Linked DNA regions of Homo sapiens: all the other regions are linked to region 3. The links are contacts of gene promoters, found by promoter capture Hi-C in blood cells and fetal thymus (Javierre and others, 2016). All regions are on one chromosome and are shown on one strand. Each heading gives the region's core, a stretch centred on a gene start or on the middle of the fragment in contact. The rest is flanking DNA. Distances are from core to core; before and after follow the strand shown.

Region 1 (2,700 bases), core at 83-2,582, 2.1 Mb before region 3:
AGTCTAGCTCTGTCACCCAGGCTGGAGTGCAGTGGCACGATCTCGGCTCAGTGCAACCTCCGCCTCCCAGGTTCACGTGATTCTCCTGCCTCAGTCTCCAGAGTAGCTGTGATTACTGGAGCGCGCCACCATACCCGGCTAATTTTTGTATTTTTAGTAGAGGCGGGGTTTCACCATCTTGGTCAGGCTGGTCTCGAACTCCTGACCTTGTGATCCGCCTGCCTCGGCCTCCCAAAGTGCTGGGATTACAGGCATGAGCCACCACGCCCGGCCGACTACAAAGTTTCTTTACCTACCTGGATCTGTCAGTCCTGGTTGCTTCCCTTGGCCATGCTTGCAAAGCCCAACCTTCAGTTCTCTTCTTATCTAAGTCTTGTCCTTCATTAAAAGCTCAGCTCACATTCCAGTCATTGTTAAATCAATTAAATATTTATTTAATGCTATTAGTGCCAGGTACCTGGCCATATGGTAGAAATACAAAGATGAAAAAAATCAAGGTCCCCATCCTGCAAGGGCTTATATACTCTAGAGGAAACAAAAGGCCCATGTAAGTATATAGGCTGTGTATGCTCACAGACCTGCGTAGGCACTGCACAGGTTTGTAGATGGTGCCGTCGTGGAACAGAGAAGGGATGCCCACAGGACATGCTGGACTCATGTAGAATTTACTGTTTACATTTGATGCTTGGTAAATGTTACCTTATATTGTTAGTTATCTTGCTGGGTTTGTAAGCTTAATTCCAAACTAATTTGAAGTCTCTTTGTAGTCAAGGCTTGAGTTCCCATACAACTTTATTTATGGATCCTGACATCTAAATTTCATGGAATTTTCACCTGTCTTGAAATGTTCTTCCTTAGATTTTTTTTAACCCTTTAAAATGTAAAATGCATTTGTAGCATGTAGGCCACACAGAAACAGGCAGTGGGCTGGATTTGGCATGATAATCGTATCTCCTGAAATATGGTGCATGGATTGTCATCAGAATCTTCTGCCATGGGTGTTTCTGGGATCCTGCCCCGTCCTGCTGAATTTGAATATCAGGGTGTGAGGGTACTTCCCGAGTGATTCTTATGCCAACTAAAGTTTGAGAGCCATTACTATAGTCAAGGGAGGACATCGCAGGGTTTAAGTTGTGAAAAGATTTTCATTTTGTGAAGGCATACGGAAGGTCCTCACTGAAGGAAGTAGGGATGGAGGAGGAAGCAAGGGTTTTGCGGATGAGTGCAGGGTTAGAGAAGTATTTAAGGGAAATTGAGAAAGCACTGACAAGGTCAATTGAATGAGCTGCTGAGTATAATCAACCTACTGTCAAGTATACATTTTTAGACGGATGAATATGCACAAATATGTGCTTTTTTTCTTTCAGCAGCTCCTTTCAGAAACAAAAGTGAAACAGAAATTTTCAGAGAAGGTTGTTGGGAAGTTAAGAAGCTCAGATATTGAAAGATGCTGACAAGTAGTTGGTGGTGGTAAGAGTGAAGAGGAAAACTTCTTGCGATGGTGGGTCGTGGAGGGCAGGTGCAGAGGAAGTGAGAGAGCTGGAGGGCTGGGATATGTGAGTGAAGGATTTCTAGTGAAGTCTTTCTGGGTGATGATGAAAATCGGGGTGTGCGCCTGAGGGTGGGGGTGAAAGTCTGTTGAGTGTAGCAAGCAGGGGAACTGGGGTATTTGTATTTGATGGATTGTCCTTCTTGACATTGACGGTACCCAGGTGAATTTGGGGAGTTGCGGTGGAGAAGACTATGAGGTCCCTAAGGTGTCCAGGAATATGGAGGAGTCACCAGAGGTGGGCAGATTCTGAAAGCAGGAAGAGGGAGCAGAGGGGGTGTGACCCGGCCTGCTGTCTGTCATGCACTCAGCCCATGCCTCTGCATGCATCCTCTCATGTAATATTAGGAGTGTGGGGGAGTCTGGAGGGAGGAAAGCTTTCCTATGAGGATAGTGGAAGGAAAATAGTACAAAGTGGCTGGGCTTGGTGGCTCACGCCTGTAATCCCAGCACTTTGGGAGGCCGAGGCGGCCAGATCACCTGAGGTCAGGAGTTTGAGACCAGCCTGGCCAACATGGCGAAACCCCATCTTTACTAAAAATACAAAAATTAGCCAGGTGTGGTGGCACAAGCCTGCAGTCCTAGCTACTCGGGAGGCTGAGGCAAGAGAATCACTTGAACCCAGGATGGGGAAGTTGCAGTAAGCCAAGATTGTGCCACTGTACTCCAGCCTGGGTGACAGAGCGAGACTCCATCTCAAAAAAAAAGAAAAAGAAAACAGTGCAAAGCAGCAGTGGGAGGTCTGGAAAAGCTCTGACCTGCTGCTTCTGACCTTGGCTTTGCTGTCGTGATGGTAAAATGAGAACAGAGGGTGGGCTTTGTGAAGAAGGTCAGCAGTGGAGGGAGGAAGGCAGTGGGAAGATGAGTCACACAGGAGGGGGAGAAGGAAGTTAGGGGCAGCACGTGGATGCAAGTTGAGAAGTGGAGCTTGCGAGCCGCGAGTGAGGGTTGGGGAGGAGTTGGAGGGGTCTGGGCAGGTAGGGTGGCCCCCCTAGGGTCTCAGAGCCCTGATGAGGTGGTGTCCAGTGACTGACTCTGAGCTTTGCAGTCCCTCCTGGAGCTGCACGTTCATGTGGTGGAAAGTTCCTCTGTGGTTCTGAAGAGCTTGCTGTTAGCAGGTGGGTGGGGGGGCCTTTTGGAAGCAGTCTGAG
Region 2 (2,700 bases), core at 201-2,700, 2.0 Mb after region 3:
GCTAAGAGAAATTTAGAAACCATCTCTTCAGAGGCCTTCAAGTAGGATGTAGAGCTGGGCCCATAGCAGTCTGGATGGCTGGTAGTTGGTGGCAGAGCTGAAACTACAATACAGGGCTTCTGCCTGGTTCCCTGGTGCTGTCCTATGACAAACAGGCCTTCCTGCCCATCATTCTCACAAGGGCCTCCCTAATCTGATATGAACTAATAAGTTAACTGCCCTTCCCAACTTGGCTACCTTAATTGTCCCCAGAGGACAACTCTGCCAGGATATTTCAGCATCATTTAATAAACTGTCTAGATACTTTCAGTATACTACACTACATGCACCCTCATGATTTAGAAAAGAATAAAAAAATCACCTTTCATAACTGGATTGTCAAAGCTAAATTTACTCACTACATAAACAGACCTATTTTATATTCATGGCATTTTATATAAGTATTTTACAACAAATAATTAAACATCAAAGAAGTTTACGAACCAGCTTCATTTGCTAGCATTTGTAAACATACATATTTTTGTTCTATAGTTTCATGCATGTAAAAACAATGCTAATTGTAAACTGGACCCAGTACAGCTTCTGATGTCCTAATTAAGAGGTACAAATGCTAATTACAAATCACTTTATCTAGTTATTAAAACTTAAGTGTCAGTTATGTATTTCAGCCAACCCCATGAAACCAAGTAAAATTCACCAACATATTAAAAGCAAGTTAAAAGTTAAGGTCACACTTAACTTTTCCATACAATTTCAAAAAGAATTAAAATCAATTAAAATTACCTAGTTGAACTAGGTATGTACATTCTTTGAGTACTATTATGAATCTCAAGAGTCCAAGTCAATTGAATCAATAAAGGAGAGACCAAGACAGGAAATTTGATTCAAGTTCTAATTCATAAAATGTCTCTATTTCTTACATGAATAAAATTGATTTGATAATAGTTACTAACCCAATTACAGGAAAGCACAGGTAGAGACCATCTACTAGTCAATTATAAAGTCTGAATACATTCATAAAACAAATGTATTATGCTATTATCACTGCAGCCATTGTTTAAATGCAGTTATTTGGTACTCCAAGCTTCTGAAGATTTAAAAAATAATTTTGTGCCATCAAAACTGGGTTGCATCTAGAGATCTTGAAATAATTACAAAATCATAATAGGACTACACAATGAAAATTCCAATATGTTGTGTTATATCTTGTATTCGACTGCAAGTTATGACAGTGAAGCGCAAAGCTTTCACAAATCGGCTTTAAATAATAATTTTAAAAAGTCTATTCTGATTAATACAGACAGCTAAAACATCCTTAAGCATGCAATCACTTGAATATTTTGCAAGATATTTTCAGGAGTACCAAGAACTCAATATACCATCTTCATTCAGAAACAAAATTAAACGTCTGCCTCAACCTTTAAAGCTCGATTACAAGGCAAAGTGGAAATTTCAAATTCAAATGATAAGTATTTCAAAATGAGTCTTTATCAGTCCTTTGGTAAAACAAACAAGCAAATGTCATGTAAAAAACTCTTAAAGGATAATGCTCATTCATCATTACTTAAAATTTTTAGAATCACATTTTTCATATGCATGGCAAATTTCTCAGCCAAAGAATTATGAAAAACATTAGAACTTAGATCCAAAGCTTGCTATGTCTTCAAAGTAGCTGTTTTCCTTTTTAATTTTTTGATATGCCACTGTAAGATTGAAGTCTCCTGCCTTTCAATAAATATTAAATATCAATTTCCTAGTTTGGCTCATTCTTGAGAATCAAGTATTAGAGTCAGTCCAGGGGAGAACATATTTTGTTTGAAAAATGAGACCACATGCTTCAGTTGTCTACCACTGTTGGTGGTGTTTTACAACGTAGAGAGATAAATTCAATCTATACTCACCAATCGTGTGTAACATATCTGTGGGTTGGAATTCAGTTACAGTAGCCTTAGAAGAGTTCATGAAATTACATTTTCAAGAAACTTAAAAACTTTAAAAATTCTGCATGAAGTCAAACAGAGCTCTTGGCTGCACACTGTAATCTGACACTAGGCTGAAGAAACTGACCAAGTTTAAGTAACCCAAGAGGAACTGTTTCCTGCTTTCTGTTAGAACAGTCTGCAATGACCTATAGTAACACTGCTGAGGCAGAGGTTACTATCGGGCATTAGATGCTGCTATCAGGAAGTCAGTCACTCGGGTAGGGTGGTTTCTTTTTTTTTTTTTTTTTTTCCTGGGGTAGCACTTATCTCAAGTGTTTGTAAGAATTCAACCCTGCTCACCCATCAAGTTTATAAAGACAAGAAAAACTAAAAGAAGGATTGGAAAATGCACTCAGACCAAGTAGGTAGCTCCCCCTCCACCTCAACAAAAGGACCTGCATGGAAAACCTAAGTTAAGATGGAACTCCGCATCAAAACAAACTTGCCTGTGAGTATCTCTGGGAAGGTGCAGCGGCCCTTCTAAAGGGAACCAAAGGTCAATTTGACATTGGTTTATTTTAGCTCACTTTACCTAGTCTGCTCCTGTAAGATGAGATGAGGCTCCACGAAGAACTTGACTCTAAGTTTAAGCCTGTAAGGGGCTAGCCCATCCATCTGCTGGGAGATCCGGTTTCTCAGGTTTAGCCATAAACTTTCACCTTTGCTACCCGTAAACTGCAGTCCAAAATAGTCAACTTCTATGATTCCCAGTCGCCTG
Region 3 (2,700 bases), core at 193-2,692:
CCTTCTCTCCCACTCGCCTTTCTGCCACTAAAATAGATTTAAAAACACAAAACAAAACTGGTCAAAGCCTTGAGTTATGTGTGTATACGTGGTGTGGGGGATTCCCCAACTGGAGTGGACTGGGGAGTCCTGCAGGCTTACCCAAGGGAAGACTGGACTTCTATGTGGCTGGTTTCCACATCACTGAACCCCAACTTTCTACAGCTGGGTCGGCCTCTTCCTTCCTCTTTCACCTGTCAGCTGCCCGGCCGTTGACTAACAGCTACCCTAATCGGGCCACCCCTCCTCCAGGTCTCCAATCCCAGAGGAGTTACCCCAGCAACCTGGCAATGCTCATCAAGTCTCAACGCGTGGTGGCTGTGCCAGAGAATTACTACAACACCTGCAAGGCTGTGCGGGCTCCTGGCCGCACCCTATCGGCCGGGAAGAACAAGCGAGGGAGTTCCTACTCCAGGACCGTGGGGTTCTCCCGCGGCTCTGACAGTCCCCAGGAGGGAGCCCCAAACTCCCGGTGCCAGCTGCAGCCGCCTCGCTTTCCGAGAAGCTTTCGGAAGCTTTTCGAAGTCGGAGAAGCAACTGCCCCGGGGCTCACCTTTGCGCTGAAGAGGTGCCGGGAGTCTCGGGGAAAAGGCACCGCTGTACAGAAAGGAAACATTGTAGGGGGGTTAGCCGACCGGCAACATCGCGACGAACCCGGCGACCCCACGCCCCAACACCCTAGCCCGGGAATTCCCCCTTCTTCAGACAGATACCCACCCCGCACCCTCTTTTAATCCGGGGCAGGAGGTATCCGTCCCTGGGGCACCCGCCCACCTCCCACCACGGCGAGGGGCGCTGCACAGGGGGAAAGGGAGGGCTTGCACCCCAACCAAGCTGCTTTGTGCAACGCTGTCACCCGAAATCCGCCACGGCCCCCACGCACGCCCCCGGAGTGGGGAGCCTCCCACCTCTGAGCGCCAGCGAGGCGGTGCGCGCCGCCCTGGACTGCGGGCGCCTCTCCGGAGCCGCGCGCCGCGCGCACAGGACGGCTGCAGCCGCGCCGCGAGCCCCAGCCTCTTCTCGGCCGCCGCCGCCGCCGCCGCTTCCGCCCCTGTCACGGCGTGACCCGGGGTGGGAGGAGCCGACAGGACTAGGGATGGGTAGGGTCCCCGCCTTCGCTTTAGCCGCAGCGCTCGCTCCGCCCTGCCCATTTCCGCCGCTGCGCAAACCCCGGCGCTTGGGGAAGTGGGTGGAGTCTGTGCAACGAGGTACGGGGCGGGAGTGGAGACGGGGCGCCGGGAGAGGGGGCGGGAACTGAGGCGGGGCGCGGGAAAGAGGCGGGGCGCGGGAAAGAGGCGGGGCGCGGGCGGAGGCGGGGCGCGGGCGGAGGCGGGGCGCGGGCGGAGGCGGGGCGCGGAGAAGTGGCGGAGGTGGAAGCGGAGGCGTACCCGCCCCTGGGGACGTCATTGGTGGCGGAGGCAATGGCCGGCAACCAGCTGTAAGCGAGGTAGGCTCACTCGGGCGCGGAGGGTGCGGGTGAGAAAGGGAACGATTTGCTAGGAGTGTATGCGCCCGTGCTAGGGCTCCCAGGAATTCTTACAAGCGTAGACAGCCTAGCAATCAGCCCTGTGAAGTGGGGTTCAGGGCAGAAGCGGAAACTGGGAATAACGAGGTCGGACAGTAAATGACCTGAATCCAATGTCCAGGATTTAAAGTGCTTCCAAAGCACTGGTGTGTTTTAATTATTTTTTTTTCTTTTTTCTTTTAGAGACAGGGTCTCCCTCTGTCGCCCATGCTAGCGTGCAGTGGCACAATCATAGCTCACTGTAACCTGGAACTCCTGGGCTCAAGTGATCTTCCCGCCCCAGCCTCCTCGGTAACTGGGACTACAGGCTCGCTGCACCACGCTTGGCTAATTTTTCAAATTTTTTTTTATAGAAACGGACTCTCGGTTTTTTCCCCAGCCTGGTGTATTAGTGATTTTTGGGAAAAAATAAGTACTGCCAAATAGTGAGTGATCCCTGGTGATGTGGGAAACTGGGGTGCTGTAAATATTCTGTCTTGCTCTGCGGTGGTTACACAGGTGTATGTATATGTAAAAAATTCACCGAGTCATACTCTTTTAAGATGTGTGCACCTTAGGAAAGTTTCTTCTCAATTTTATGAAATTTAAAAACAAAACTATAGCAGAAGCTTTTGAAAAGGTGAGAATGGAGACTAGAACAACTTGAGGACTTTGTTTGTGGGCAGAAATTTTTGTGAAATTTCCCTTCCTTAATTCTTGTAATGTGCACTTTTTTTGTATTATAGAAATAAACTTTATTTCTCTAGAAATGATGTATACAAGTGGAGTCCATGCTGAGAAACTGTTAGAACAGCTAAGACGTTGAGCCCAGGAGTTTGAGACCAGCCTGGGTAACATAGCAAGACCCTGTCTCTACAAAATATTTAAAAATTAGCCAGGCATGGTGGTGCACCCTTATAGTCCCAGGTACTCAGGAGGTTGAAGTGAGAGGATCGCTTGAGCCCCAGTGTTGGAGACGGAAGTGTCATTACACCACTGCACTCCAGCCTGGGGGATAGAGAGAGACCCTGTCTCAAAAACAAACAACTAAGACATGATTAAGTTATGTGCATGATTTTGTTAGACAGTTCAAGTTTGTGTGAAAGGAATAGAGTTGTGCTACTCCAGGCTGCTGTGGAACTCTGATAAAGATTATG
Region 4 (2,700 bases), core at 127-2,626, 2.2 Mb before region 3:
CGCTACTGACCTGGGCAGGGACTCCGCGCCCCGCAGACTCAGTGTAGATCTAGTCTAGAGCCCAAGTTTCGCTTTTGGAAATTGTCAAGGTGACTAAGGGAACACTCTTTCCTTTGACCAGTCAGTGCAATAAACGAACAGCGCAGGAGATTTTTCCAGATACGTGCCAAAGGCAAGTTGGACCATGCGGACGATGTCTGGCAGGTGCAAAAGGAGCCCTTTAAATCGTGGGCTTCTCCCTTCCTGAAATCCAACCAATGACGCGGCGAGAGCTGATCCCGAGGCCGGGGCTGATAGACAGAAGCATGTGGGCAGACAGAATCGTGGGGGCAGAAGGTTCAGCAGACGCGATTGCGGGCACCAGTTAACATTCCAGATCATTCCCGGTACCTTCATTATTAGCCTGGATAGGGGTAAAGTACAAATTAACTCTTTTGTCTTACAACGGATATTGGTTTGAATCCAGCAGACATTCCCTCTGGCCCAGAAACACCCAGGGCAGTTAATCAGGGCTAACCTAGAACTGATCTACGGGTTTCTAATCCGCCAAGCAGTAATCCGAAAAAGTACACGCTTCCCACGATGACGTCGTGCCCCCAACGAACGCAGGCACGCCCAGGCATCAGCACTTTATATCTTCAGTTTTGTAGGAAGTTCTCTGACTGGAAGCAAACACAACGACTCAAACCTATCCCAAAGTATTTTTAAAATAGTGTCTTTTTTTAAAAAGTAAACTAGAAATTGTCATCAGAAAAATATAAAATGATGTGTCAAACTGACTCCTGAATTTGTTCAAGTATTCATGGGTCTTAAAATTAAAGCTTGCTCCTGAGATTGAGCAGGAAAAGAGACCCCTGCAGGAATGTGGGGGAAGTTATGTATGTAGAGACTAGATCATAATTTATAGTTACGTGCAAAACAGCTGCAGAATTGGTGCTCATAGGTGATGAGGATTGCAACACCTTGAGCCCTTTCACAAGATTTTTATTACTATTATTAATTTCCCAAAACTCTTACTCAGAGTGCTATGAAACACCTGACAAGATGTGTCAGATCAGGCTAGGACTCCTTAATATTTTAGCCTTGTTACCTTTTCTGAAACAGATGAGTTAAAAGTTCCATTAAACCTTGCACCAGGCTCAGGAATATTTTAGTCTTGCATTCAGGCTAGTTGAGGATCCATAGCCCTAAACATTTGTCGACACTGGTAGAGGTGACACTATCTTTATTTTTTGAGACAGAGTCTTGCTGTTGTTGCCCAGGCTGGAGTGCCATGGCACGATCTCAGCTCACTGCAACCTCTGCCTCCTGGGTTCAAGCAATTCTTCTGCCTCAGCTTCCTGAGTAGCTGGGACTACAGGTACGTGCCACCACGCCCAGCTAATTTTTGTATTTTTAGTAGAGACAGGGTTTCATCATGTTGGCCAGGCTGGTCTTGAACTCCTGACCCTAGGAGATCCGCCTCCCTTGGCCTCCCAAAGTGCTGGGATTACAGGCATGAGCCACCGCGCCTGGCCAGAAGTGACACTATCTTTAGGGCAGATTAAGTGGTACTCAAAGGGCATGAGCTAGAAGTGTAATATACCAGCAGCTTCCCTGCTCTTGTTCCATCAATGTTGCTTTCCTCTATGGATATACCTGTGGAAGAAACTAGTACTGTCACTACTTGGATATTACCATCTGCAGAGCATCACTGGCAGCTTGCATTTGGTGGCAGTAGTGGGGGTTGTGAGGGAGGAGTGGTGCAACATACACAGTAATTATAGACCTGCGCCTTATGATTAGAGACCAGCCTGGGACTGGGGCTGTGCATAGAATCCTGGCTTGAGCTCCCCACAAGTGATTGCAATAAGATAAATACGACACAGCCACAAGAAAGCAAGTGTTCACACTCTAGACCCACACCTGCAATTCTGCTTTAGAAAGCTTTCAGATATTTATCATTCTACCTTACCCAAGTTTTTTTAATATAGGGTATTTGGTAGAGAAACAGATGTTTTGACACTTTATGTCTAGTGAACTCTAGGATGAGTAGGTGGAGAGAAGAGTTCAAAGAGAGAAGATAGTGGAAGATAAGATGCTGAAATCCAAGGTAGGCTATTAATTTGTGGAAGAGGTAGCATGTTTTAGCAGAAAGAATGAGCTTTGGAGTCAGAGTGATCTGGGTTTAAATTCTGGCTCTGCCATTTACTAGCTATATAGCTAGGGGTGGTGGCTCACGCCTGTAATCCCAGCACTTTGGGAGGCCAAGGAGGGCAGATCACCTGAGGCCAGGAGTTTGAGACCAGCCTGGCAAACATGGTGTAACCCCATCTCTACTGAAAATACAAATATTAGGCTGGACATGGTGGCTCACGCTTGTAATCCCAGCACTTTAGGAAGCCAAGGCGGGCGGATCACCTGAGGTCAGGAGTTCAAGACCAACCTGGCCAACATAGTGAAACTCCTTCTCTACTAAAAATACAAAAATTAGTCAGGCGTGGTGGCATGCACCTGTAATCCCAGCTACTCGGGAGGCTGAGGCAGGAGAATCACTTGGACCTGGGAGGCGGAGTTGCAGTGAGCCATGATCATGCCACTGCACTCCAGCCTGGGCAACAGAGCAAGACTCTGTCTCAAAAAATAAAAATAAAAAAGTCTGTTTTCTTATATGTCAAATGGAGACCCATATTTCGACACCCATATTGCTAGGTTTTGATG
Region 5 (2,700 bases), core at 166-2,665, 2.4 Mb before region 3:
CTAATAATTCCTTCAAACTTAAAAAGTTAAAACAGGGCTGGGCATGGTGGCTCACGCCTGTAATCCCAACACTTTGGGAGGCTGAGGCGGATGGATCACCTGAGGTCAGGAGTTGGAGGTCAGCCTGGCCAACATGGTGACACCTCGTCTCTACTAAAAATACAAAAATTAGCCAGGCATGGTGGTGGGCACCTGCAATCCCACCTACTCGGGAGACTGAAACAGAAGAACCGCTTGAACCCAGGAGGCAGAGGTTGCAGTGAGCTGAGATTGCACCACTGCACTCCAGCCTGGGCGACAAAGGGCGAAGCACCATCCCAAAAAAAAAAAAAGTCAAAGTCGAAACAGAATTCCTGATCTTCTCCCTACCTTACCAGATCCTCTTACAACTTCTCCCATTTCATTTAATGGCAATCCTGGCTGGGCGCAGTGGCTCATGTTTGTAATCCCAGCACTTTGGGAGGCCGAGGTGGGTGAATCACAAGGTCAGGAGTTCAAGACCAGCCTGTCCAACATGGTGAAACCCCATCTCTACTAAAAATACAAAAAATTAGCCAGGCATAGTGGCGAGCGCCTGTAACCCCAGCTACTTGGGAGGCTGAGGCAGGAGAATTGCCTGAGCCCAGGAGGCAGAGGTTGCAGTGAGCCAAGATCTCACCACTGCACTCCAGCCCGGCCAACAGAGTGAGACTCTGTCTCAAAAAAAAAAAAAAGACAATCCCAATCTTCTACTGCTCAGGCCAAAAATCCTGCACTCCCCTCTTTCTGTCACCCTAAATCCAATCAATCAACAACATCCTGTTGGCTGTACCTTCAAAATATATTCAGAATCTATTTGTGACCATACCCACTGTTACACTCTTGGTCCAAACCAACATCACCTCTTGTCTGGATTATTGCAATCCCTAATATCCTTGCTTCTATCCTTAAACTCTACAAGAACATTTTCAGCACAGAAGTCAGGGATCCCTTTAAAACCTAAGTTCATCTCAAGCTTCTCAATCAAACCCTTCCAGTGGTATTCCATATCAGAGTAAAAAGCCAAAATCACTACAAAGATCTGCAATGACATATATAATCAGCCTCCTGCTGCATCTCTGGCCCCACTTCCTACCACGCTCCCCTCAGTCATGCAGGCTTTGTTATTTCGTACCCACTAGATATGCATTCATTTCACAGTCTTATTCTTGCCTGGAATGCTCTTACTTAAGACACCTGAATGGCTCACTCACTCAAGCCCTTAAGGACTTTGCTCAAGTGTAACAAGAGAGGACTTTCCAACCAACACCCCCACCTCACCACACACCCTCTTCCTATGCCCCTTTCCTGCCTTTTTTTAAACTGTAGCATTTAATCATCTGCTTAAAATGTTTTAATAATTTTTTAACTGTTTATCTTACTAGAATACATACTTCGTGAGGGTAAAGGTTTTCGTGTGAGGTGTTCACTGTTTTATCCCAGGTGCCTAGAACTATGTCTAGCACATTGCAGGTTCTCAATAAATACTTTTACTGCAGACTACACAGTCGGGCAATATATGGATATAGATATTCTGAGTATGCCAAATTAGTTTCTGACTCGGGAGCCTTCATAATTGCTATTCCTCTGCCAGAATATCAGCCCCCAGATAAGTATGTCTTCCCACCCACTTCTTCACTCAAACAACATCTCCTCGGAGAGGCCTTTCCTACTACCTTATCTAAAATAACCACGCTGCCCAAGCATGCCCACACTTTCACTGCTTCTAACCCTGCTTTTGTTTCATGTTTCTTCATTGTGCTTACCTACCTGACACCACATATATAATTGTATCTTCCTCATTACAATGTAAGCTTGTTAAGCACAAAGGCATCATCTCTTTTTCAGTACTGTCTCTACAACACCTCTAACAATGCCTGACACATAGCAGGCACACAATAGTTACTGACTAAATGAATGAACACAATGCTTAAGTTGAATTTAGCTAGTCTTTCTATGACACAGCAGGAAATTCTACACTGGGTGGGAAGCTGAAGTAAATGCCCAACCCCTAGGATTTCTTCTATCACCACTCTTCTATGAAATAATTAAATGAGAGAGGCTAGGACCAGGTAGTGCCTTTGGAATGCGGAAGAACTACTGACAGATCATGAATAATTAAATAACATTAATTAAAAGCCATATTTTTTAATTACACAATTTTGCCATCCCATATACAAGTGTGTATGGATCCACTGAAGAGAAATAGAAAGGAAAAAGAGGAATGAAAGGAATCCACTGCAATAGACATCCCATATCATTAGAGTTAGAGAAGCAGAAGTTGCTAAGCTTCTTATCTTACAGAGCTGGAGTCCACTGAAGCAAAAGGATTTGTACATTGATAGAGCTAGAAATCAGAACCTTGGCATCCTCTCAATACCATGCTCTTCCCACTATGGCTTTGCCTCACTGGCAAAGTACAAACAATGCAAGAATCTAATGTGACACTAATAAGTAACCACATTCCAGAAAACAATGCGTAAAGGAAAAACAGGCAGTTCACTTAAGAAATACAAATACCCAGAAAAGAAAAAAAAAAAAAGAGGAAAGAATGCTCAACCACACTAACAACAAGTATTGAAACAATAAGTTATTTTTCAGCTGCCTCACTGATACAAAGCTGACAAAAACTCTGTTAGCTGAAAGCACAGAAAAACTGGTACACCCCTTCTGGAGGGCAAC

What was found. The method cuts DNA at HindIII sites, captures the fragments that hold promoters and counts their contacts. A CHiCAGO score of 5 or more calls a contact.
Region 1: a fragment that was not itself captured here is called in contact with the fragment with the promoter of TPMT in region 3 in 1 of 17 cell types (total CD4 T cells); the score reaches 5.7 in total CD4 T cells.
Region 2: a fragment that was not itself captured here is called in contact with the fragment with the promoter of TPMT in region 3 in 1 of 17 cell types (fetal thymus); the score reaches 5.6 in fetal thymus.
Region 4: a fragment that was not itself captured here is called in contact with the fragment with the promoter of TPMT in region 3 in 2 of 17 cell types (fetal thymus and total CD4 T cells); the score reaches 11.2 in fetal thymus.
Region 5: a contact is called between a fragment that was not itself captured here and the fragment with the promoter of TPMT in region 3, in 1 of 17 cell types (naive CD8 T cells). The highest score is 9.0, in naive CD8 T cells.

Annotation. Positions count from the first base shown.
Region 1 is chr6:20,205,739-20,208,438 of GRCh38, reverse strand. All of the region lies in intron 1 of MBOAT1 (membrane bound glycerophospholipid O-acyltransferase 1), which reads left to right. Among named protein-coding and RNA genes, the nearest start is that of MBOAT1, 5.4 kb to the left of the region's middle. RefSeq lists an enhancer at 1,689-2,440. The HindIII fragment of the contact is 1,193 bases long and covers 736-1,928 here.
Region 2 is chr6:16,130,562-16,133,261 of GRCh38, reverse strand. It overlaps MYLIP (myosin regulatory light chain interacting protein), which reads right to left. Exons shown (of 7, transcript NM_013262.4): 2 at 2,515-2,700. Among named protein-coding and RNA genes, the nearest start is that of MYLIP, 2.8 kb to the right of the region's middle. RefSeq lists an enhancer at 60-219. The HindIII fragment of the contact is 407 bases long and covers 1,247-1,653 here.
Region 3 is chr6:18,153,819-18,156,518 of GRCh38, reverse strand. TPMT (thiopurine S-methyltransferase) reads left to right here and starts at 1,442. Exons shown (of 9, transcript NM_000367.5): 1 at 1,442-1,486. KDM1B (lysine demethylase 1B) reads right to left here and starts at 1,097. Exons shown (of 22, transcript NM_001364614.2): 1 at 948-1,097; 2 at 593-636. RefSeq lists an enhancer at 157-396 and a silencer at 837-1,396. The HindIII fragment of the contact is 1,618 bases long and covers 557-2,174 here.
Region 4 is chr6:20,398,820-20,401,519 of GRCh38, reverse strand. It overlaps LOC124901482, which reads left to right. Exons shown (of 3, transcript XM_047419652.1): 3 at 1-779. Among named protein-coding and RNA genes, the nearest start is that of E2F3, 1.7 kb to the left of the region's middle. RefSeq lists a silencer at 1-66. The HindIII fragment of the contact is 1,105 bases long and covers 824-1,928 here.
Region 5 is chr6:20,538,091-20,540,790 of GRCh38, reverse strand. The region is part of intron 2 of CDKAL1 (CDKAL1 threonylcarbamoyladenosine tRNA methylthiotransferase); the gene reads right to left. Among named protein-coding and RNA genes, the nearest start is that of CDKAL1, 5.0 kb to the right of the region's middle. The HindIII fragment of the contact is 838 bases long and covers 997-1,834 here.